5 separate regions of the Homo sapiens genome follow, and all the other regions are linked to region 1. The links are contacts of gene promoters, found by promoter capture Hi-C in blood cells and fetal thymus (Javierre and others, 2016). All regions are on one chromosome and are shown on one strand. Each heading gives the region's core, a stretch centred on a gene start or on the middle of the fragment in contact. The rest is flanking DNA. Distances are from core to core; before and after follow the strand shown. Region 1 holds the start of HACD4 (3-hydroxyacyl-CoA dehydratase 4). Region 2 has its middle 92 kb from the start of MIR4473. Region 3 has its middle 260 kb from the start of SLC24A2. Region 4 overlaps MLLT3 (MLLT3 super elongation complex subunit). Region 5 overlaps MLLT3 (MLLT3 super elongation complex subunit).

What was found. Contacts are between HindIII fragments. The CHiCAGO score rates a contact against its expected background, and 5 or more counts as called.
Region 2: a contact is called between a fragment that was not itself captured here and the fragment with the promoter of HACD4 in region 1, in 2 of 17 cell types (naive CD4 T cells and naive CD8 T cells). The highest score is 5.5, in naive CD4 T cells.
Region 3: a contact is called between a fragment that was not itself captured here and the fragment with the promoter of HACD4 in region 1, in 1 of 17 cell types (non-activated CD4 T cells). The highest score is 5.2, in non-activated CD4 T cells.
Region 4: a contact is called between a fragment that was not itself captured here and the fragment with the promoter of HACD4 in region 1, in 1 of 17 cell types (megakaryocytes). The highest score is 5.8, in megakaryocytes.
Region 5: a contact is called between a fragment that was not itself captured here and the fragment with the promoter of HACD4 in region 1, in 2 of 17 cell types (naive CD4 T cells and erythroblasts). The highest score is 5.8, in naive CD4 T cells.

What each region holds. Positions count from the first base shown.
Region 1 is chr9:21,028,332-21,033,119 of GRCh38, reverse strand. It overlaps HACD4 (3-hydroxyacyl-CoA dehydratase 4), which reads left to right and starts at 1,480. Exons shown (of 7, transcript NM_001010915.5): 1 at 1,480-1,567; 2 at 3,722-3,825. The coding sequence starts at 1,530. LOC105375989 (a long non-coding RNA gene) reads right to left here and starts at 1,478. Exons shown (of 3, transcript XR_007061435.1): 1 at 1,120-1,478; 2 at 469-648. RefSeq lists an enhancer at 1,141-1,701 and a silencer at 1,345-1,704. The HindIII fragment of the contact is 3,612 bases long and covers 1,099-4,710 here.
Region 2 is chr9:20,316,676-20,321,604 of GRCh38, reverse strand. No RefSeq gene overlaps it. Among named protein-coding and RNA genes, the nearest start is that of MIR4473, 92 kb to the left of the region's middle. The HindIII fragment of the contact is 5,665 bases long and covers 1-4,929 here.
Region 3 is chr9:20,042,710-20,047,688 of GRCh38, reverse strand. It overlaps a transcript of SLC24A2 not described here. Among named protein-coding and RNA genes, the nearest start is that of SLC24A2, 260 kb to the right of the region's middle. The HindIII fragment of the contact is 1,345 bases long and covers 2,877-4,221 here.
Region 4 is chr9:20,395,473-20,400,158 of GRCh38, reverse strand. The region is part of intron 5 of MLLT3 (MLLT3 super elongation complex subunit); the gene reads left to right. Among named protein-coding and RNA genes, the nearest start is that of MIR4473, 13 kb to the left of the region's middle. The HindIII fragment of the contact is 2,735 bases long and covers 1,714-4,448 here.
Region 5 is chr9:20,348,724-20,353,868 of GRCh38, reverse strand. MLLT3 (MLLT3 super elongation complex subunit) reads left to right here. Exons shown (of 11, transcript NM_004529.4): 10 at 273-344. It overlaps LOC124902129 (a long non-coding RNA gene), which reads right to left. Exons shown (of 4, transcript XR_007061434.1): 1 at 3,082-5,145; 2 at 1,724-1,838; 3 at 1,469-1,563. Among named protein-coding and RNA genes, the nearest start is that of MIR4473, 60 kb to the left of the region's middle. The HindIII fragment of the contact is 3,293 bases long and covers 1,266-4,558 here.

The DNA of each region.
Region 1 (4,788 bases), core at 231-2,730:
TAGAAGATTCCATTGAGAGAGAAACAGAAAGAATACAATGTTTAATTATATGCTAAGAGAGAGTTGTCTATGTCCCTAAAGTGCAGTGAAAGCCAATGGAAAGGAGGGGATGACGATGCAAGAAGAGGCGATGGTTAACTACTGATGCAGTGAGTCTGAGAAGGGACTGGTAAACACAAAGTTGGGGTTAACCTCCGACTGAGGGCAGGGTATGAGAGAAGGTGCAGAGAAATGTAGAGGTGAGAGGTAGGCATAGTGAATGGAATGGACTATGAAAAAAGGAAGCCACGGCCTAATGGGAAACAAACAAGAAATCCCACCAACCTTGAAGTTCTGATACTGCCATTTTATCAATTGTGTGACCTGTGCCAAGTGACTTAACATTTTTTTAATGCCTCAACTTCCCTTTTGGTAAAAATGGGGGCGCTAACTTCCAACTCCAAAACCAGGTGCCATTGTCCCACTTACTTGCAAGTGCCTTCTTAGATGTTTCTGTTTTTGTTTTAACGTTTCCCTTTCTGGGCAGAGGAGCTTGAAGATGGGCTGGATCTTATTAGCAAAGCAGGAGGGTGGGTCATCTGTGTACGGAGACAGTGATGTCATAAGCCTGAGAGATCACGAAGGGGTTGTAGCAGTGCTGGGCATAGGCTAGAGAAATTAACACAACGTGAATAAAGATTTGCAGGCACCAGTGAGAACCCAAGGGAGATTAGAGAGCAGGGAGGCCTGATAGAAGAGGAATCAGGCCCCTAGCTGAAAAAGTGTTGGGGAGGTGTGCTACAAACTTCGTTTTATTTTTATTTATTTTTTGAGACAGGATCTCGCTCTGTTACCCAGGCTGGAGTGTAGCCGCGTGATCTTGGCTCATTGCAGCCTCGACCTCCCAGGCTCAAGCGATCCTCCCACCTCAGCCTCTGGAGTAGCTGGGACCACAGGCCCGCGTCACCATGCCCGACTAATTTTTGTACATTTAGTAGAGACGCGTTTTCGCTATGTTGCCCAGGCTGGTCTCGAACTCCTGGGCTCAAAAGATCCTCCCGCCTCGGCCTCCCAAAGTGCTGGGATTATAGGCATTAGCCACTGCGCCCGGCACAAGCTTCGTGTCTGAACCTGGCTCACCGGTGGGCATTGAGCAGAGCCCACCCTGGAATCCACTCATCTCGGGAGGTTTGGGGATGGGCTTCAGCGAGTTCGGAGGCCCCGGAAATCGCCCAGATGCATTAATTTCCAGAAGGCTTGCAAGGGGGTCTCAACACAAAGATTAGGAAGCTGTAACCAGAGTTTGGTAACCCCACCGGGAACGCGAGCCGCCTCCCAGCCTTGCGCCCTGACGCGCTCTAGCAGTGCTGCAGAAACTTCGAGAACTTCGTTTTCATCTCTTCCCCAACGCACGACCTCGGGCTTTTTCTTTTTGTAAACTGCTGAGTGTGGAGAGGCCCCGCCCTTCCGCGCCCAGCCGCGGGGCCGCCCCTGCCTCCTCCCCGGTACTCCTTCCTGGACCGCGCTGGAAGCCCTGGCGGCGGCGGCCCATGGGGCCCTTGGCGCTGCCCGCCTGGCTGCAGCCCAGGTAGGGCGCTCGGCCGAATCCCGAGGGGAGGGGGCGCGGGTGGAGGGCCTGGAGGCGGGAGCTCCCCTCTGCGGCGGGCGGGCGGGCGGCACCCCCCGCCCGCCAGCAAGGCGCAGCGCTACCGTGCCCAGGCACCCCTTGGAGCTCATGCAGGTATTTGCTAACTTACCCCTCTTGACCACCCTAGGAAGCAGGCTCTGTTATTTTCTCCATTTTACAGTTGAATGGGAAGGACAGGCTGCATGGCTACCCCTGCCCTTGTGAGCCCTCTGCCAGTACTTCCCTCCCCCCAGGAGCCTTCTCTTGACTTTCTCAGACGCAGAGTTGCGGGGTGATTTTTAGATGTAACAGCCGTGGAAACACCTATCACACGTATAGATTTCAGGGCCTAGTTCCGGCGGGGAACAGATTCAGTCATATAGCGGTAGGGCCTGGGGGTGTATATGTTTAACCCACAAGCCAGGTAATTCTGATACAAGCTGAAGGAGGATTTCCTCTTCCCAAACCCTTTAGCAGTTCCTGCCTTTATAGGGGAGGATGTCCCCAAATAAAAATCATTCTGCCTCCCAGCTTATTTTCCTTGTTTCTAGGAGGTTTCACATCTTCAAGGAGGAGTAAATCTTGACCACACTGGCAGGGCCACTCCCGTCACTCTTCTGAACTCCCAGGGAACATTTCAAACAGTGCTTTTCCTAACTCCCTCAAACCATCTATCTGTCAATCTTCTCTTAGTCATCTCCCCAGCAACTCACAACACATTGTTAAACCCAGCTTGACTTCCCTCTTCTGGTATGAGCAACTAAACTGCTTTCGATATGTATCTGATGAAGGAAACTATCTACCCTTGCAAAATGTTAATAGGCAGTGGCAAGATGTTAATACTAACCTCAATCACATAATGTGTTCAAAAGTCAGGTGTGTCCAATTACTGAATTACCCAACATTTGGATTACTCCCATCCCTACCCCCCTTCAGAACTAAAACACTGTGTCTCAAGTTCTGCACTTAGCAAGCTGAGCTACTGGAACACATAGTGACATGTCAACCACTCTGCACACATGGATTTTTTGTTGTTGTTGTTGTTTTGTTTTTTATTTTTTATTTATTTTTGAGAACAGAGTTTTGATCTGTCGCCCAGGCTGGAGTGCAGTGGCGCTGTCTCGGTTCACTGCAGCCTCTACCTCCCAGGTTCAAGTGATTGTCCTGCCTCAGCCTCCTGAGCAGCTAGGTAGCTGGGATTACAGGCATACGTTACCACATCCGGCTTTTTTTTTTTTTTTTTTGTAAGTTGCCATGTTGGCCAGGCTGGTCTTGAACTTCTGGCCTCAAGTGATCCAACCCGCCTTGGCCTCCCAAAGTGCTGGGATTACATGCCTGAGCCACCGCGCCCAGCCTGTTTTGTTTTTTTAAAGAATATTCAAAGCCACCTTCGCAGTGGTTTCTTTTATTCCTTGGTGAGCAGCAAGGTTAGAACTTTATCAAAGATGAAAGCAGATTTTGAAAAAGCACTATATTTGGTTTTAAGCAAACTCACTATACAGATGGTCCATGACTCACAATTTTTTAAACTTTGTGATGGTGTGAAAATGATATGTATTCATTAGAAACCGTACTTCAAATTTTGGATTTTAATCTTTCCCCAGGCTAGCGATGTGCAGGTATGATATCCTTTCATGATGCTGGGCCGCGGCATCAGGCCGCAGCTCCCAGTCGGCCGCATGATCAGGAAGGTAAACAACCGGTACTCCACAGTGCACTGTGTTGCCAGATGATTCCACCCAACTGTAAGCTAATGTAGGTGTTCTGAGCAAGTTTAAGGTAGACTAGGCTAAGCTGTGATGTTCTGTAGATCAGTTGTATTACATGCATTTTCAACTTATGATATTTTCAGTTTATGATATTTTCAGCTGATGGGGTGTACCAGGACGTAACTTCATCATAAGTGAAGAAGCATCTGTATTTACTTTAGCGGGTAGTGTAGGTTATGGCTCCCTTCAAAATCTGATATGTACTTGGGGGTAACCAGATAAAAGACTGATATGAAACAGTTTTCTTTTGCTTTCTCAGGTTGGCCAGTACATTAAAGGGCATGTGTACAGTGATGAAAGGATGATTATAAAAGAAGTGTTTAATGGTATTTTCCTGTATTTATAGGTATAGGAAGAATGCGTATCTTTTCATCTATTACTTAATCCAGTTCTGTGGCCACTCTTGGATATTTACAAATATGACAGTCAGATTCTTTTCATTTGGAAAAGGTAAAACTCCGAAACAGTTTTTTTATTTTTAACTTTTAATCCTTGTTTTCACCTCATCCTGCTTATATTAAATTTCTACACACCTCAACCTTCTAATATCCTTCTCTAAAATTTGTATTTTTTAGCAACCATGTTTATTGCAAAACCTTCTTGGGGAAGGGGGAAGGTGGGATAAGTAAGGGAAAGGGATTTGGCTTCCCCCTGAGTTGGCAGTTTGCCTCAAAAAAGAGATGGATGGCACTGAGGTGGTATCATTTCATTGTTCCTTTTCCATTCTGTACCAAACCTTAGCAGATTTCTAGTGTTTTGAGGAAATCTCAGCATAACATTTTATGCAGAGAAATCAGGAATGAATCAAATTCTTCCAGTGTTTGTATTATTCCCCAGGTTTGAGGTAACTGGAGACTACTAGTAAGTGAAATACAAATTTTATATTCCCCAAGCCTCTATTTGGTCCCTTTAAGAAGTAATATGTAAATGACACACTTTGTAGAGGGCTAACCACTTATATAGGAGTCAGCATTAATGGTTTAAGTCATAAACTTCCTCTAGTTTCCTGAAAAGTAAAGTCACTGTTGGGTGACTAAATGACTATCAAAATAACATTCTCTTCATGTTCCATCCGCACGTGGGTAAGTGTCCTCACAGTTTACAACTGTTGAGTGACTTGACAATCTAAGCAACTGCTGGCTTCAGCTAAAAACAAATGTTTAGAATGTAGCTGGGAAAAGTCATGCTGTGCTCATCATTTCAGACGTGTGTATCATAAGGAAGTTATTCTACTTGCAGGGTCCCATAAGCTATTTTATGTTGCTTTTTCTTACTGAAAATCTACAGATATAGTCTCGCCTTTGTTAAGGACCTCCAAAGATATAACCTAAAGCTTGAGTTTCAACTACAAATGTTGAGAGTTTTCAAGCACAGGAAAACACAGGTGATGGGAAAACTTCTTTTATATTTTTA
Region 2 (4,929 bases), core at 1,274-3,773, 710 kb after region 1:
CAGTTGCTGGTGGAAAATATGATTACCAACACAGAGGCAGCTGCTGTTGCTCTTTGTTTTTCTAACTTTCAAAAGTGTGGAACGGTAGTTAAAGCCCCCAACAATCTTACTCCTTTCTATCCCATTTCATTTCACCGAGGGTTCAAGGTAGCTGCACTCCAAGTAACATCTTCAATGATCATATTCAAAGCATGATGTCACACAGGGATAAGAGTAGCAATTTTTTTTTGAATCAATATGTAAACCTGACTCCTTCATTCAGGGTTACAGCTCTCCAGTGTTTTGGCCTCTCATCACATGGCTCTGATGTGTGGATCTTTTGTATAGAACCTCTTGGCTGGTGAAAGTCTGAACTGAAAAGGCACCAGTATCTGTTAAGACAATCCTGTTAGCCTGTTATTACCTGCCAATTACATTGTTCCTTGTTTAGAAATCCAGTTGAAAGAGGCACGCTAAGAACTCCATCAGAAGTAGCTGGTGTGGATTTTTGTAAGTATGGGTAGAGAATCTGCCTACGGCAAGTAACACCAGTGCTGGCATGCCCAGAAAATTCCAGCTGGAGGTGGGAGTAAGTGGCACTTGGCAAAGTTGCCCTCTTGACCTACTTGTTTAATTTGGATGGAAAAATGTGTTTTGTTTATGTATTTTTTTCAGGAAGCCATTATGGTGAGTCTTTCCAATATAATTTCCACTGAGACCTCTCTTATTCAGCTCAATTTTCTCTTGGGCTGAGGCTGACAGAGACATGGTTGGTGGGAGAATCTGTCACCCTGTGGAGCTGAACAGTCTTCAAGATAAAGCTGCCTGCTGGCCTTTCACTCCCAAATTGCCTGAAACCTGGTCACGTCCCAGCCAATGTCCTCTGCCTTTTGATGAGCTCCACTGTGAGGGGAGAACTAGAAACTGTGAGGAGTGGGTAGACTTTTTCCTACTGCGCAGTGAGATGGGAATTTGGTTACATTAAAAAATACATCTGTATTCCTTTTATCATGCAGATGAAGTAAAAAGGAGTATATAAAATAAATTTATAGTTTTGCATTTAAAAGAGACACAGACAGAGAGAGAAAGAGACATCTTTGGCCTTTGTTATTTGTTTGACATCTGCAGTCCTGCTGGACCACTAGCTTGGTGAGGGCAGCTGGCAGGCAAGCCTGTGTGCTGTTGTAGCCAAGCCCCTAGCACAGCTCATAGTAGGGGCTCAGTAAATGTTGAATTAATAATTAATCTCCATATCAAATTTCCTCTTTGTCCGCAGTCATGAAATTCATACGTGTCTTAAGTTTCAAAGCACTGAGTGAATATAGCTTGCCCTAAAGCAAACAAACAAAAATAGCATTGCTTGGAAAGATCTCGTTTAGCACCTTAGTTACCACAAGTGCTCATTAGGGCTTTCTTTTTCTCTTGAAGGTGTACATTTGGCTGAGCGTGTGTAAGTGGGTTATGTGACTAGCCAAATGCCTTCTCTCTTCTGTACTTGAAGCCCTGCTCTCCCAAGCTGAAGAGTAGATGACTACAGGGAAAATGTGACTCATAGCAAGTGTTGTTATTAAATCACCTTGAAGTGTCTCTTGTAAAAGATAACTCCCTGCATTGTAGAAATGTCTTTGACAAGAGAGGATTAGGGTGAAACTGCAATTACCTTGACATAAAGGAATGAATTAACTTTCCAACTTGCATTTTTGCAAGGCATAGATTCAAGCTGCTTGGAATATAAACATTGAACACATTCACAATAGCTTGGGGCACTTGAAAATTCTAAAGATGGGCAAGGAGCCCCAAGATGCTAGGCAACTTCAGAGGTATTTCTCACCACAGAGGGAGTGCCTGTCTGGACAGAAACCGCCAGTGCAGTTGTGCAGTGTCTGCTCATGTGTCAGCAGGGTTTAGGGGACCGTCAGGACGAATGCCTCCTGGAGCTGATGCCTGCAGGGTCTGCCCGGAGGAAACAGAGAAATGCTCTTCCAAGATTTGACTTCCAAAACTACCCATTCACTCGACTCAGGAAATATTGACCGAGCACTTACTATGCGTTGGGGCGTTGGGCCGTGAGTTCAGGCAGTCTTGGCTGTCAGGGACTTGGAAAAGTCACACGTTAAACAAATCGTGTGGGCATGAACCTCAGTCAACAATTCATGTGCAAAAATACACACTTTTGTTTGTTTTCTTTAAGTCAAAGCTGACTCTAAGCTCTCATCCTGCCAGGGCAGCAGGAAATTCCAACTCCTAGTTTTGCACCAGAAGCCCAGGGCCTTCACGAGGATTCTGAAAACACAGGAAGGGCCTCTGGTTTCTGGTCCATCATAGCTGCTGCCAACATCTCTATTTTACCTCAGTCTCCAGATGGGCAAGCAGGCCAAGATGTGAGGCAGCTCAGTGTGTTCTGCTGTGTCAGTGTGACCTGTGGGTATATGAATGTCCACCTGAGCTGGAAAGTCCATGACAAGGCCCTGGCGTCCTCAGGTGCACGCCTTGGCCATCTCTCTGAGGAATATTCACAGCTCCCTAGGCACACTTCTGTCGGAGACACAGGCAGGCTCTAACCAGGGAGGGGAGGGGGTGGTCTGCAGAATAGGGCCTGAGCCACCCTTGGATGATAGGGGAGTAGGTACTCTTGTCCAACTTCTAATAGGAGACTGGGCACTTAATTGTCCAATTTCTTTCCTCTATCATCTGTCATATTCTTAACAGCAGCCATGTCAACATATGACTTAAAATTGTTAAAAAGCCCAGCATGTTGGGAGGCCAAGGTGGGAGGATCTCTGGAGGCCAGGAGTTTGAGGCTGTAGTGAGCCATGATTGTGTCCCTGTATTCCAGTCTGGGTGACAGAGGAAGACACCAACTCAAAACAAAAAATTGTTTAAAAGGCTGAATTTTTAGTAAATGTATTCAGGGGAAAAGTATTCCACTAACACTTGGTTACATTTCAGTCTGGTCTCTGCTAAGCTCAGCATCTGTCTACCGTCATCCACCTTGAGAATTTCTCTCCTCTCTTCCTGTCATCGAAGGAAGGGCTCTCACCCTTTGCTTTGCCTGCAAAGGACTGGGTGTTTTACATGAAGAACAATGTCTTCCTTCAGCTTCCACTTTCTCTCTGGAAAAATCCCTGCAGCAAAGGAATGCAAAGCCAGGCACCTGGTAGAAATGAAGAAATGGAACCACAGAACACCCATGAATGAATGGTTCAGCAGACTGTCCCACCAGGCCCCAAATCACAAAGCGCATGAGGATAATGAAAGAGGAATTGCCTGCAGCCAAGGGGCACATGGTGGGCTGGTCTGAGGGGCCAGAGAAGGCCTCCTGGAAAACGTGTTGACTAGGATAAGGTCTCGAGGATGAAAAAGAAGTTCACCAGGGAAGCAGGGTTAGGATGTTTACAGGGCCAGGTCACAGAGGGAGAGGGGCAGTCAGAGAGGGAGCAGGTATGGCCTGAGATCTGAGCAAAAGCCCAAAGGGCAAGAGAGGAAATATCGATGGTGACCCAGTGGTTGTTGAGTCTGTCCTTGTCCACTGGGTCCCTTACAGGAGGGCTTTCCCTCATGTGGTTTGTTTGTATGGGGCCTGTGTATTTAGGGACAGCACAGATAGAGGCAAGAAGGAATCAGAATGGAACCTACAAACGTGGAGGGGAAGGAGCCACAGCCCCTAGAGCCACCACATGTGCAGACCCAAGTTGGAATGGATCTCGGAGCTGGCGCTCTGGAGTGAGCTACTGACACTCTCACAGTCTCGGCATCTCTGTAAGATTAGAACAGTAATTCTCACATCCTAAGTTGTGAGACTTTAAAGACTCATGCACAGTGGATATTAGGCCAGGCCTGGGCTGCTTGCCCTCAGCTCTATTCTCTCCCAATCCTTGCTCTCTCTGTGTGTCAGGAGGCCATCCCTGCAATCTCCGGTGTCAGCCAGATCTCTGGCCTGTTGAGGCCTTGGCAGGAGATTGGAGGGTGGGAGGATGAAAGAAGCCCAGGTATTTCTATCCTCTTTCTCTCCTCCTGCCTGGCTCCAATTTCCTCCTGACAGAGCTGCCATGGTCCTCATTTCCACTTAGTAGGTGACCCAGGCCCCAAGTCTTGCCTAACCCTGACATTCAATTTGTCTGTGCAGTTGAGGCATGGCAGCAGCTTTCTGCTCTTGCTAATCTCTGGGTTGTATGCTGCCTCCTCTTTGGCTTCTCAGCCTCCCTATCACCTGTTACCTCTTCTCTGCACCAAATCCCCTCTGCTTTAAACTCTCAGCATGATTTCTGTTTTCCTGGATGAATGATAAGCGTCACAGTGAGTAGCAGTAGTTCCTCTTCCCTGTGACCACTGCTGTGAGTTGAGTTGTGTCCTCCAAAAAATACTGAAGTCCTAACACCTGGTGCCTGTGAGTGTGACCTTTTTGGGAGTTAGATCTTTGCAGATGTAATCAAGTTAAGATAAGGTCATTAAGGTGGGCCCTAATCCAATGACGGAATCCTTAGAAGAAAAGGGAAATTTAGACACAGGAGAGCACCCATGGGAAGACAGAGACACACAGGGAGATCCCCATTTGATGACACAGACAAAAGTTGTCACAATGCAGCTGCAAGCCAAGGAATGCCAAGAATTGATGGCCACCACCAGGAGCCAGGTAGAGGCAAGGAAGGATCCTCCCCTTTGGGTTTCAGAGAGCATGTCCCGTGTGGCACTGATTTCAGACTTCTTGCCTCTAAAACTGTGAGACAATACATTTCTATTATTAATATTTTAAGCCATCTACCTTGTGGCATTTTGTTATGTCAGTCCGAGAAAACTGCCATGGTTTCGACGTGGGTTGCCCCCACCAAAATTCATGTTGACATTTGATTCCCCTGATGGCAGCGTTGGGAGGAGAGGCCTAGAGGGAGGCGTTTGGGTCCTGGAGTAACGCTGCTATCACCTCTCTCACTATGCAGGGAATAGTTCCAG
Region 3 (4,979 bases), core at 2,300-4,799, 990 kb after region 1:
CCCATTTCCTCTATGTACATTTACAATGAGAAGGCGGCCCTCCATGAGGTAGTGGGCTGTCACCAGACACAGTGAAGATTCAGTGTCTGGTGAGGGCCCACTTCCTCATGGAGGGCCATCTTCCATTGCAGATCTTGGACTTTCCAGCCTTCAGAAACATAAGAAATAAATTTCTTTTGTACAGAAGCCACCCAGTCTTTGGTATTTTGTTATAGCACCCCAAACTGACTAAGATACTGCTTTTCATCCCCTTATCTTAATAATGAAAATAGCTGACATTTAACCTGACTCTGACCTTTGTCAGGTATGGTGTTAAATGGTTTATAAGTATTATCTTATTGAATGTTATGCAGTAGACCCTATAACCCTCCCTTTTTTATTATTAGTAACTGAAGTTTAGAAAGATTGAGCAAACAGTCTGCATAGCTAGAAAGTGGCAGAACTAGAATTTAGGTCCAGGCAACTTGACTCCAAAGCTGGTGTTCTCAAATGCTAGGTCCTGTTGCCCGTTCCCTTGGGCCTTCATGTCAACATCACCTGTTGTAACTAACCTGTTGTAACCTCAGGCTGGACAGATGCTGTTCTGAGTCTCTGGTGCTGATAGGCTATTGCTGAACCCGGCTCCTTCCCAAACTCTAGTGCAAAGAGCTAGATAGTTATATAATTAGGGAAAGGAATAGTAGTCCCGTAAAAATAAGGGATCCCTAAGTGGTCTTCCTGGTTGTTCCATCTGGACACTAGAAAGAAGAATTTAGAAAAGGGAAAAAAAAGAATCCTGGGTCTTATTAGTAAGTAGATAGAAAGAAGCAGTACCTGGAGGATCACTAGGAAGAAAACTGTTTTAAGAGGAGAGAAAAACTTTGCTTAAAAAATTGAAAGGCAATAAGTAATATCAAATAGCTAATGAGATTCTCTGGGGATAAAGGAAGATGAGTAAGGGCCACTGTGAAAAAGTGGGCAGTGTCCCACCACAGAGTAGGTTTCCTTTCCATCTCTGCTTCTTAGGTTGCAAACTGTTTTTCTCTCATTCTGAAGACTATAGAGGTTCACTTGTAACTCTGAGTGTTCACTTTCTCCTTTTACTGCCCCCCGAACACATTGTGCACACTCAAGCTGTAGTAACCAAGTAAATCCTGGATAGCATTCTTAACAGAAAAAAATGTTGTTTTTATCCCAGAGGACATATGGCTTCAAGACAAAGATGAACTCAATTTGCATTTCCTTTGATAACCAATTTTAAGGGCCCATAAAAAAGCCCTTGGCATTGCCAATCTGGAGGAAGGTTGGGCATTGTCTGCCTAAGTGCTTCCTTACTCTGTGAGTTACAGTCACCAGATGCAACAGAGAAACCTTCTGGGTCTGCCTGTCTGCCTGTCCCTTTCTTTTTCTTTCCTTACTTACTTCAGAAGCAATTAGACAGTATGAAGATGGATGCTGACAAGCCTCTGTGTTGAGATATTTGCTGGCCACCCCACACAGTGGGCACTTGTCTTTATTTTGGGCCATTCAGCCTCAGTGCCTTGGCTTCCACAAGCATGTGTGTGTTAGCACCATGAAAGATAACTTACAGATGAAACAAGATGAGGACACCACACTCACCAGAATTCTTCTTCTGAAAGGAGAGCTGTCAGTGTTGGGACTTTTGATATGAGAGCAGCTAGGAGCCTGGCCAGCCTGGGGGTGAGTAGACCTGTTCTTTGTTGCCTGCTAAGGCACAGGTCCTTTGCACTAGTTGTTCTCTCCATATGTGGGGAGTGTGGCTCTAGAACCAGCCTACCAGGTTCAAACCCATCACTCACTGGCTCTTGGGCAAGACACTTGACCGCTCACACCTTGATTTTCTCACCGTATGATTAGGCACACTCATAGTAGTTCCAAACAGGATCATTGTGAGAATGATATAAGCATGCATGGACGGCCAGCAGAACAGTGTGTGGCACATAGTATTAATAACATGTGGCCCAGTGCAGTGGCTCACCCCTGTAATTCCAGCTCTTTGGGAGGCCGAGGCAGGCAGATCACGAGGTCAGGAATTCAAGAGCAGCCTGGCCAACATAGTGAAACCCCGCCTCTACTAAAAACACAAAAAATTAGCCTGGCGTGGTAGCGGGCGCCTGTAATCCTAGCTACTCAGGAGGCTGAGGCAGGAGAGTCGCTTGAACCTGGGAGGCAGAGATTGCAGTAAGCCAAGATTGTGCCACCGCACTCCAGCCCGGGCGACAGTGCGAGACTCTGTCTTGAAAAATAATGATAATAATAATAATAATAAGGTGTTCCTTTTTTGTGTTCTACTTAACCATATTAATTCTCACTCTTCTTTCAAGTCTTAGCTGAAGTATCATTTCCTTAGGGAGACTCCCCACCTAGTAGATCAGCTGCTTTGTACACGCTCTCTGAGAAATCTGTGCTTCTTTTGCAATTCTGTGTTTATTAATGCGATCATTTGGTGAGGTCTGTCTTCCCCACTAGGCTGCAAGCATCCTTTTTACATCGTATACACAGTGCCTGGCACAGGGTCTAGCATATAGTAAGTTCTCAATAAATTTTTGCCAAATGCATAGTATATCTATACGATCCATGTATAGAAATGTTTAAAGCACCTAAATTGATACATTTTATTTAATACAACAAAAATATACTGAGCACTAACTTTATACCAGACACTGTGCTAGAAGCTAGTCAGGCAGCAAGAGAAAAGATGGTTCCTGCTCTCAAATGGTCCCCAGTATTGTTGACAGCCACATACCAGATAAATCTTAACACTTGAAGATGTAACCTGTGTAAGTCATGTGCTCACCCTGTGCTGAGTCACTCTAAAAACAACCAAGTATGAGTGGTTGGGGGTAATTTTTGCTTCACTGAGTATTATGGAAGCTTAATGACTTAGTGATACTGTGTGCATGGTAGCATTAGGGCCTATATACAAAGAAACAAACAAAAAAATAGGATAATCAGAATTCTAACACTGTAGCAGAAAATAACAATTTGCATTTCTTTGGAGCTTTATAGCTCCACATCAGTTTTCTTTTATGATCTGGGTCATTGTATAATTTTTATCCCCAATTGATTAGATGAGATAAAATATGCGTTGTCCCAAGGACCCAGTGAGGACCCAAGCCCAGAATCTTCCACCTAGATATCCTGGTTTCCTTGACCCAGCAAAAGGAATGGAATGAGCGGTAACTCCACAGCCATGAGCACAACCCTGCCTCCCAATGTTAAGTGAAACTAAACATCCTCCCTGCCCTCCCCATGCGTTCATGGTGGTTCGGGGATCCTGTGCTCACAAATACTGCTCTTTTCAGAGCAGAAATGGTAGGTTCTGTCTTTTGTGATTGCAGACCTTTAGGCTTTAAGGCTTAGCATATACAGGAATACCTCAGAGATATTTCAGGTTCAGGTTCCAGACCATCACAATAAAGCAAGTCACCAACATTTTTTGGTTTCGTCGTGCATGTAAAAGTTACGTTTACACTATAGTCTATTAAGTGTGGAATACCATTATGTATAAAAAGTTTGCATTGTGTTTCAAAATATACACAATAAAAAATACTTTACTGCTAAAAAAAAAAGTGCTAGTGATCATCTAAGCCTTCAGTGAGTTATAATCTTTTGCTGGTAGAGGGTCTTGTCTTGACGTTGATGGCTGCTGACCAGGGTAGTGGTTGCTGATGGTTGGGATGGCTCTGGCAATTTCTTAAAATGAGACAACAATGAAATTTGCTGCATTGATTGATTTTTCCTTTTATGAAAGATTTTTTTCTGTAGCATGTGATACTGTTTGATAGCATTTTACCCACAGTAGAAATTCTTTCAAAATCGGTCAGTCCTCTCAAAACCCTGCCACTGCTTTATCAACTAAGTTTATTCTAAATCCTCTTCATCATTTCAACACAGCAACTTCATCAGAAGCATATTGCATCTCAATAAACTACTTTCTTTCCTCCTCCATAAGAAGCAATTCCTTATCTGTTCAAGTTTTGTCATGAGATTGTGGCCATTCGGTGCCATCTTCAGGTTTCACTTCTAATTCAAGTTCTCTTACTATTCCCACCACATCTGCAGTGACTTTCTCACTGAAGTCTTAAACCTCTCAAGGTCATCTATGAGGGCTGGAATCAGCTTCTTCCAAACTCCCATTAATGTTGATGTTTTGATCTCCTGGTATGAATCACAAATGCCCTTAATGGCATCCAGAATAGTGAATCCTTTCCAGAAGCTTTTCAATATACTTTGTCCAGATCCATCAGAGAGAATCACTATCTATGGCAGCTATCACCTTACAAAATGTACTTTCTAAATAATGAGACTTGAAAGTCAAAATTACTGCTTGACACATGGGCTGCAGAATGGGTGTTGTGTTAGCAGGCAAGAAAACAACATTCATCACTCTGTATATCTCCATATAGGTAATAAGTTTGTTTCACTTTCTTTTCGTTCTTTTGCTCACTGGAGTAGCACTTTTAATTTCCTTCAAGAACATTTCCTTTACATTTATACCTTTGCTAACTGGTGCAAGAGCCCTAGCTTTTGGCGTGTCTCAGCTTTCGACATGCCTTCCTCACTAAGCTTAATCATTTGTGGCTTTTGAATTAAAGTGAAAGGTGTGTGACTCTTTCTTTCACCTGAACACCTACAGGCCATTGTAGGGTTATTAATTGGTCCAATTTCCATATCGTGTCTAGGAAATAGGGAGACCCAAGGAGAAGGAGAGAAATGGGGAAAAGCCAGTCATTGGAGCCATTAAAATACACATAACATTTATCAATTAAGTTTTCCATCTTACATGGGCATGGCTTGTGGTGCCTCAAAGCAATTAAAATAGTGACATCAAAGATTACTGGTCACAGACCACCACAACAGATAAAATAATAATGAAAAAGTTTGAAATATTGCAAGCATTATCAAAACATGACACAGAGACATGAAGTGAGCACATGCTGTTGGAAAAATGGCACATAGATATTGTTGCCACAAAC
Region 4 (4,686 bases), core at 1,832-4,331, 630 kb after region 1:
ATGTTAGGTTTTTTTGTTTGTTTTAGTTTTGTTTTTCTGGGCCAGACCATCTCATGGGTAGATTATATTCTTTTATTAGGAGGCCTATAATGTAAGATTATCTCTTTTTTTTTAATGATGTTAGCAACCATTGATGCTCATTGCTGTATAAGCATTAATTCATTAGGGATTGTGAAATGCTGATATTTTTGTTCCATCGTTCTTTCTTCATTTATCTGTCAGAGTTCACCTATAAAGAAAAACTGCCCCTTATCTACTTTCTCCCCCCAAACCAGCAGTAGTTTGTATAGAAAAGTAAAACACAGTGCTTGATTCTTTCCATTTATTTGTTTTCAAAAGAATGACTTTGGTACCCTAGCAGCCTCGAACAGTTTCACATGCCTCAAATTATATTTTAAGTACTGCTTTTAAGCCTTCTCCAGTCTGACCGTTTCATCCTTATCTTTCTTTCTTCTCCCCTATACTTTAGTCATCGTAAAATATTAGCAATCCATGATTCCTTGACTATTCCATGCTGTCTCATGTCCCAGTATATTACCCTGAGTCCTTTATGACCTGGTTAACTTTCACTTATTCTTTGAAACTTTTCTAAATAATCTGCCACACCCCAACTAACCCCTCCCTCCTTTGTGCATCTACCATGTATACAGTTTATGTATACTTGGATGATGATTGTTTTTCCGTCATATTAAAGTGTTTTTCTCCTGACCAGTGGACTATTTTGAGGGCAGACCCTGTCTCTTAATTTTCTAATCTCACAGCTCTTTGCATGGTCCCTGGCTCTTAATTGGCACTCAACAAATATTGAGTTTAATAGTGCAAAGATGTGTTAATATATGCGTATGTATTTATAGTTAAGACTCCTCTTAAGTAATTGATGCATGTCTAGTCGAGGAGTCTTAACTATAAATATGTCTGTGTAATCTGGAGATGGAATTTTTGGTCTGTCTTCTTTATGGAGGTGGACTAGACAGGTCACATGAGTGAGAGAACTCCCTGTACAAATAAGACAAGTCTTGGCCCTCTCAGAGGTACACAGTACAGGGTGTAAGCCACCCTTATGCAAATAAGTTTATATAACAAAATCCTAGGATAAATTGGAGGTCACAGTAAGCAAGTTGCATAAATTGGATTTCACTCTTACCTGCCCGGGCAGCCCCTTGCCTTTGTGTTGGAGTACATAAGCCAGCCAAGGAGTGTGTAGCTCTTGAAAACTCCAACAGAAAGAGAAGAGAGTTGTTTTTTTTGTTTGTTTGTTTTTTAGCTGATTTCACCGTGAAGGGTATTAAACCACAAAAATAACACAGGGGCAGCAAGGACCACAAACTAATCTTTTATTGAGACAGCAGAGGGATGTCAGAGTCTAAAATTCCGAGACATTTGCTTCTCTATTTTAAAAAAGCAAATAGTTTTCAGAGAAATTTCAATAACAGGATGTTGCAGTGAAAGAAATTTCTGCCTCCCTATTTCCTATAGGGGCTGTGCAGGGGCATGATAACATGAAAGTTATATGGCCACCTTGTTTTTGCTGTCTTTGTGATCGTGAAATATGATTATATTCCCTCTAATGTTTACAGTGCTCTTGAAATTATTGGAACGGGTAAAATGCCCCTTGTATACCGTGTAAAAGGGACTTGCTTCCCCCACTCCCCCAATTTCTGTGTCCTCAGGTTGCATAATTGTCAAGACAGAATAGCTTTAAATTAATAAGCTTAATTTGGCTGTTAAATATTTATTAAACCATCACATCTGAGTAACTACAACCGTATAATTAAATGTTTATTGTAGCCATGTAGCTCATGCCTGTAATCCCAACATTTGGGAAGCTGAGGCAGGAGGACTGCTTGAAGCCAGCCGTTTGACACCAGCCTGGACAACAAAGGGAGACTCTAAAAAAACTAAAAAATAAGCTGAGTGTGGTGGCACACACCAGCTGCTCGAGAGACTGAGGTGAGGGATTACTTGAGCCTAGGAGTTCAAGACTGCATGAGCTGTCCTTGTAACACTGCACTCCAGCCTGAGTGAGACCCTGTCTAAAAATAAAAAAAAATTAAAAATTAAAAATATTCATTGTATATGCAGAAGAATGAATGAAAAAATGCAAAAGATATAAGTTTCTAACTAAAAGGGGCAAGTATTGTGAAAGAGAGTTATATTGAACACTAGCATAGTGACAGAAACAAGATGTGGAAGATGAAGTTAGTTCCCCTAAAAATTAGGGTCTTAGTTGTGTCTTTGTTGGCACTTGTATTTGGAAATACATATATATTTAATTATATTCATTGGATACACTGTAGCATTTCTAAGAGTGGTTTTAAAAGAGCCATTACATCTATGAGACAAAAATTATACCCAAATATAATTTATCACTGTGGGATGCTGAGATTATTAAGAGAAAAAAAATGAACTCTAAAGACAGCAGTCATCATTTTAGAAAGGAAGATGTTATCACAACCTTCTGTTTTCTTAAGGAAAGGCATAGCCTCAGCACATGTACTTTGAAACCTTATTAAGACACCCTAAAACTTAGGTAAATATAGATTGATGGGTTGCCTCCTGTATTCACTTCTGGAGATCCCCTAAGTTGTAATTTGCATGCTGATGGGTCCTGCAGAGCTGCCTTTCTACCCAGCTTTTATAGGGCCCTACATGTTCCGCAGTCAAAAGAAGCTCAAGTAATGAGCCTGCACTGATAACAATTCTCTCCAATCGCCTGAAAAGCATACTCACTCTTGCCAATCGCTGGTGGGTGCTAGCTTATACTGTGTACTTCTGCTCCCAAAAGTTGAACGTTATACTCACTGAGAAGCCAATGTAGTTGTTCCCAAAGATATGTATCAGTTGTTCTTCTAATTATGTTAATTAAATGTTTTAGAAACCAATAATGTACAAAAAGCAATTGTTTCTATGAAAACTAAGTTGAAACCTGATGGGGAATCCCTTGAAAAAATATGCTTTCAAATAAGGTATAAAACACCAAGGCAGAAAAAATTATCAGACTCTAGAAGGACTCCTGCGTTCTAACAGCTATACAAGTCTCTGGCTTCTTGCTCATAAATGATGATCGTAGATAATGCATTGAGTGTGATTTATCTAAGAAAGATTTTTCAGACCCCACTGAAAACTGCTTGATTCTGCATCAAAGGATTGGTTGATTAATGTGTATTTATAAATTTTCAGTTAAAGCAAAATATTTAAAGTGTGTGTATGTGTTTAACTAGTTCTAGCATCTTTCACCTGACAGATCTCCACTAGCCAGAAATCTTGATTGTGCCTCACCTTGGATTGTGGTTCTTTTTTCCTTGATTTTTGAGTTAGGATAAGCCTTACTCCAGCAACAACACCCTTTGTTGCCTTTTCTTTCTTCCATTATTCCATTTTATCAATGACAGTGTCATACATACCTCACTTCCTGCATGCATTTCTTTCTAGATGAGTTTGTAGATTCTGTCAGCTTTGACGGCATCTACGCCCACCAACATTTCCCTTCTGAACTTGTGTGCTCCTGTAAATATATGCCAGGTGGTGCAGGAATCTGCTTGGAACCATAGCACTTTGGGCCCAGGCAAGCAGATTGTCCATATTTTGGTGAGGAACACAAACTGTGTTTTATAAACCAATTGAAAAACTAACACCCCAGAAAGACTCTTGAGACCTGGGAAAGGGCCCCAGGTCTGACAGTTTAACTAGCTCTGTGATCTGGGGCAAAATACTTATTAACAACTTTGAATCTTAATTTTATAATCTCTGATATGTGAATAATAGCTCACAAAATTGTGTGAATCAAAGGGTAGTAAAAAGTACCTGGCACATAGTTGGTAGTCTGTAAATTCCAGTAGAACCTGAATATTTCTAGTTTCCTTCTGTCTTCCCTCTTTCCTTCTTTCCATGCCTTACTTCACATATTGTTAGGGGGACTATATGTGTAAAAGAGTTCCCAAAGTTTAAAGTGCTACTCACAAGATGTTAAAAGAGATGACTTTCTCTTAAAAAAAAAACCCTGAAAATATGGTTTATAGTAGGCATTTTATCCTTTTAGTTGATAGTTTCTGTTCATGAGGTGACATTGCCATTATAGATGCTGTATTCGTATGTATTAGTTAACTTTTGCCTTTATGCTTCATCTTGTCTACTGAATAGAACTGGGAATTTAAAGGTAGGGATTCTGCTTTCTCCAAGAACAAGCCTATGCTGTCCTGAACACAGGATCCTGCATTCAGAAAATTCTACAGTACAGTTGTTACCGATGGTTTCCTTCATCCTGTTTACCTGATGCTCTGCCATCAGTACTTTTGTTGGCTCTTCAACAGCTTAAAGCCTATAAAAGTGCAGACTTGGCTGGCATGTTTTAATCTATCGGAGGGCATGTAATGTACCACACAGGAAAGATTTATGTTGCTTTCATTATATGTGGTTGTGAACCATGTCACTAAGTCAAAGGAAAAGCTTTTAATTATTACTGAAAGGACAGCTAAAAGGTGTTTAACCTAAATTTCTTTCCTGAATGCCAAATATCTATCCAGGGAGAAAGATGCCAAGTTTTTTCTGATGAGTTTATTACAGAGCAGTAAACACATAGCCAACATGAAAGGCAAAAACAGTTTTGCATTAGATTCATAGCTGCATGTTTTAAAGTAGCTTTAAAAGTTACCCCATTAGTACCTTTTAAAGCTACACATAAAATGC
Region 5 (5,145 bases), core at 1,663-4,162, 680 kb after region 1:
AGTCTACTGACTTGAATCTTCATAAGAGCAATTAAGTCCAAGAATTCACTCCAACTCCCTTTTTGAAGTTGGTGTGATAAAGGTAATGACTGGTCCAAGACAGGCTTGTTCTGCAGAGGCCTTTGGGCACTGAGTGCACACAGCCTGGGCTAGAGTGGTGTAATGAGAAACCTCCAGCTGCTGCTGCCTGTGTGTTCTTACTTACATATTCATTTATTTTTGAACTACTACTTAAAGTGCTTGTCCTTTTCGGGGACATTCTTCTCTTTCAGGCATACCTAGATGAACTGGTAGAGCTTCACAGAAGGTTAATGACATTGAGAGAAAGACACATTCTGCAGCAGGTGAGAAATGCTTTTTAGCACAACCCTTTCCAGAAACTTCAAGACTTGGTTTGTCCTGCAGTAGTGTGATAGCACCTGGAGGCCACTGCAGCCCCACGCTATCAGAACCTGGCGAATGCCACCTGTAGATGTATTTGGGAAAGGTTCTCATTTCTGAGGCCACCTAGAAGTCTGCTCTGGAGCTCTATGGCAACTGTTCTCCCTCCTCTAGTGCAGTGGATGGTGAGAACTGGGCAATTTGGGAAGTGATACTGGATTGTAGTGATCCCTCAGATGGCTGGTGTAATGTGGGCTCAGGGAGGGGACAGTAGAAATGCAAAAAGCTTTGGGGCCAGGCTTCTGGTTTCATGGGAAAACAGTGATAAGAATTTGAGTCAAGTGTTGTAAACATTTGTGATTCAATTTAGTAACCTTTGCCAATGATATTCTAAGGAAAATAAATATTTTCTTCATTTCCCTTATCTTGTATGACATACATTCTATTATTATGAACTCAACTGTGGAATACTTGTAGTGGAATACTTGTAGAGTGGGGAAACTTCTATTAGTATAATTTGATGTTTTGAGAAGATAAGAAGGGTGGTTTTTCATTTTCATTCAGTTAATGATGTATGCCTCTGTTGCACTACCAGCAGCTATTGGTAATTTTTTTTAACACCCAAAGAGAAGAATGTGTGTTCTAAATTCCAGGGCAGACATGTAGATTGTTTCGCTGTTTGAATTTTTTTCTTCTTTTTTTTTTTACTACTTTCAAATGACTTGACGTTAGTACTTAATCTACCCCAGCTGTGTGTGGGTTTTTTTTTTTTTTTTTAACATTTAATGGCTGGTGGTCACATTTATATTCTGTGTACATTTTTGCTTACATCTATAAATATATACTCTCAAACTTGCCAAGTTTCCTGACTGGCCTGATAAGCTTTTTAACCCTTGTAGAATTTTAGATTTGAACAAAAGACTACAGACCTATGATTCTTAATTGCAGATAAGTTGCATTTCTTGCAGTTTCTTTTTAGTTAGTATGGGTAAGGAAGCAGGACTTAAGTGGCCTACCATGAGTGGTGGTCTAGTACTTTGCTAATATTCTTCTTAGGCCTCTTTTGAAGAACCGAACGTTGTTTTACCTGTCATTTTCCAAATATTTGGGGCTGGCATAATGCTGATTGCAGATCTATTGCATGATCTTTCTCGTCTCTTCCCAAACACCAGCTCTGAACCACTGTGGAGCAATTGTCCAATAAAGCTATTAATGCCCAAGCTGGGCCCAAATAGTGAGTCTCATAGGAGGGTGGGACAGATGTTTGTGCAGGGTTGGGACATCTTCACAAAGAAAGCCCTATCAGTTAGTCAAGGATACTAGGCCATTGGGCAGATCTTACCTTGGGGTGTCATTGGCATTCGCAATTTAATGTTGTCCTTTATTTTGACCTTATAAGAATTGCGAAGAAAGGTGGCTTACTGGAGAACTCCATCCAAGTGGATTATTTTAGTATTCTAGAGGGAGAGAGTAATATCTGTGAATTTTTAACCTGGCATAAAGGCACTCCAGGGCACACAGCATTTCACCCTAATTGCATTCCCAGGCCGGTTGAAAGCTCTCAGTCTTTGGCCTTTTGCCTTGTAATGCAGCTGAGGCTTGTGATTATGATACCATGATGCATGTCCTGTCACGGTTTACTGCTTAATTAATTCCTTTTGTAAAACATAGCACTATTGAGGACTAATGTTATTCTCCACCTTGAGGGCTGCTCATCTCATGGAATTCATTCCACAAAGTCTACGTATTCTCTGCCGTGCAGACTTGAACACCTGAAGCAGAATTTCTGGTGGGCCCAGGATCACATCTAGGTCCTTTCCTGTTAAATGCATCCTATCCAAAAATCTGGCCTGACGATTTTATTTGGCTCACAAAAAGCGGTTAATAACTTTGTTTTCCTCTGGGGGCATGCAGTCCTGGCACTCGGCAGCTAGTTTAATGAACAGACAGCATTGGATCAAGGAGCCTGTGTTCCTAAGCCACTTTTTCAAAGGGTATAAATACAGTAGAGTAGACACAGTCAAACCAAGAGAAGTGATTACCTAGGACTGATGAATAATTTGATTGCTCTTTAAACCACATGTTCCACATTTATTTGGAAAGTGAGATTGAACATATGTAACCTCCCCAGCAATTCAGCTCTAAGCCTGGATTTGCATCCACGTCTGGGGGAAGAAAACTCTGTGGGAAACCAGGTTTCCTAAGAGAGTAGTTTAGCAATTTAGAAGCCAGCCGTCATTCTTTTCGAATTGTCTGCAGGGAATGGGGAATCTGTGGCGTATTAGAATATTCCTTCTAAGAACCCAGAGAACCCTCCCTGAGAAATGTTCTGATGAAAATGATGTTCTCCATCCTGGGAAATTACTTGTCATATCTCAGCACCCCTTGTAGATTGGAGCCTGATGGCCTATCCCTTAACCAAGGGTAGGGCACACATTTTTATGTGGTGGTTGTCCGTGCTTTCCAGACCATAGTAGAGGCCATTCTATGGGAAGACCTATGTTATCCCAGATCTGGCTCTACTCCATAGAGAAGCAGTTAAAGTAAGGCCTGTTCATTACTCCCCACACAGCGAAGAGGCTGCTTCACATGGAAAGAACCCTGGTTTTTGAAATTATAATCAGACCAAAATCAATGCATTTACCTTTTTATAATTAAAAATTGGGGAAGGGAGCCACAGATCTGACAAGTGGATCTTACCCTGTTTAAAACAAAATGAGACATCCAACAGCCTGCGTAGTACCGCTTGAAAGGCTGATGTGGCAGGAAATAATCCATCATGAATGTTTTCACAACAACCATCATCTGAAGAATGAGTTAAGCAGTTTACACACTCTTCCTTTTCCACTACCCATATGTACCTGGTTGCCTGTTTTTCTTTCTTTCTTTTTTTGAGACGGAGTCTCGCTCTGTCGCCCAGGCTGGAGTGCAGTGGCGGGATCTCGGCTCACTGCAAGCTCCGCCTCCCGGGTTCACGCCATTCTCCTGCCTCAGCCTCCCAAGTAGCTGGGACTACAGGCGCCCGCCACCACGCCCGGCTAATTTTTTGTATTTTTAGTAGAGACGGGGTTTCACCGTTTTAGCCGGGTTGGTCTTGATCTCCTGACCTCGTGATCCGCCCGCCTTGGCCTCCCAAAGTGCTGGGATTACAGGCGTGAGCCACCGCGCCCGGCCGCCTGTTTTTCTTATCTGCAGTCACTCTATCTACTATTATTATTATTTTGGACAGACGTTAATTATTGCACTATGATGCAGAGTAATGACGTCAAGGTCAAGCCACACTGCATCAGCAAAGAGGGTATTCCTGTAGAAAGGCACAGTGGAGTTCTTCAGGCACTCATGGGGTGTGTTCAGGCTTTGTGGCCTGTGTCAATGGAATAAAGCATGTTAATGTTGTTTCTGACGTTCTAACTATCAGGATTCCTGGAAAGCAATGCACACTTATTTTTCTTTATGGAGCCCTTACTTAAATGAGGATGTGGGCACATGCTCTAATAATTCAAATCATTAATGCCATTCCCTTTGGCAAATAATTCCCAACTCCCCAGCTGCTGCCACTGCTACTACTTTAAGGCTGTTTCTCTGCATCTACCTTGATGTATTCTTGTGGGCTCTCATAAAAACGTGGGGCTCATTTAGTTAGATTTATCAGATCCCCTTTATATTGTTGTGCATGTGTGGCTGCAGGCCGGGCACAACATGGTGATAGAGGAGGTAGCGGGTGGTGATGGAAGTACTGGAGATCTGCAAGATAGCACAATGCATGAGAAATGCCCGGGCTGACGTTTCTAGTGGGCAAAAGTGTTTATATGCTTTAAAATTAAGTGGCTTTTTTTCTAGAAGGGATTTTTTTATTGCCCAGTTTTCTATTTGTTATTAAATAATTAGGGAACAACTATATTGGGTCGTGGAAAACTGTTTTCTTAAAAGAATGAGTTACAATTTTTTTTTTTTAATTCAAGCCGGCCTTTCTGAGTTTTAGTTTCTGCATTTTCTTGCCTCATTTATTTTAGTGCTAATGAAATGGCTAACACTCATTGGGGGCGAGAGGAAAAAGCATCAGGTCTATAATTCATGTGCAGTTTAGTCACCTCCCAGATAATTAAGGATCAGTTTATAAGGTAATCATAATCATGTTATCCTGACTTAGGTAGCAATTTACCATTTATAAGAAGCTTTATTTATGATACCTTATTTGATCATCTGCCCAAACTTGTACAAGTAGAACAGGTAGCATTACTCTCATTTTCCAGATGAGGAAACTGAGGCTCAAAGGTTATGATGTTCTGTCTAATACCATTGAAAAAGTTTGCAGAGTCAGAACTTGATATGCCAGATCCAGAACTCTATTCTGAATGCTTTGTCAATTACCTACTGGGCAGCTCGCTGAGGAAAGGAGTCAAATTCTGGTCAGCTTGTTATTTGCCTCCATTGCATAAATTTGAAATTATAATAGCTCTAAAGAGACTACTTGTTTCCATCCTGAAATTTACACATTTTCACTAGATTCATAGTATTTTTGCACAAAATGGCAAAAAAAAATTATTCCAGAAAATACATAGTCTTAGTTCAATTGATCTTAATTATATAGTAAGTATATGATTGACATGAAAAGCCTCTGTGGGCATAGCTGTGTGTTTGTGTTTCTGTATGTGTGTGGATATGTGTGGAAGACTTCTTGAAAGTTCTGTTACTAATAACTAATAAAACAAATGTGTGTCCATTTTAGATCTTTTAGTGTTAATAAGATCTTGTTGGATACAT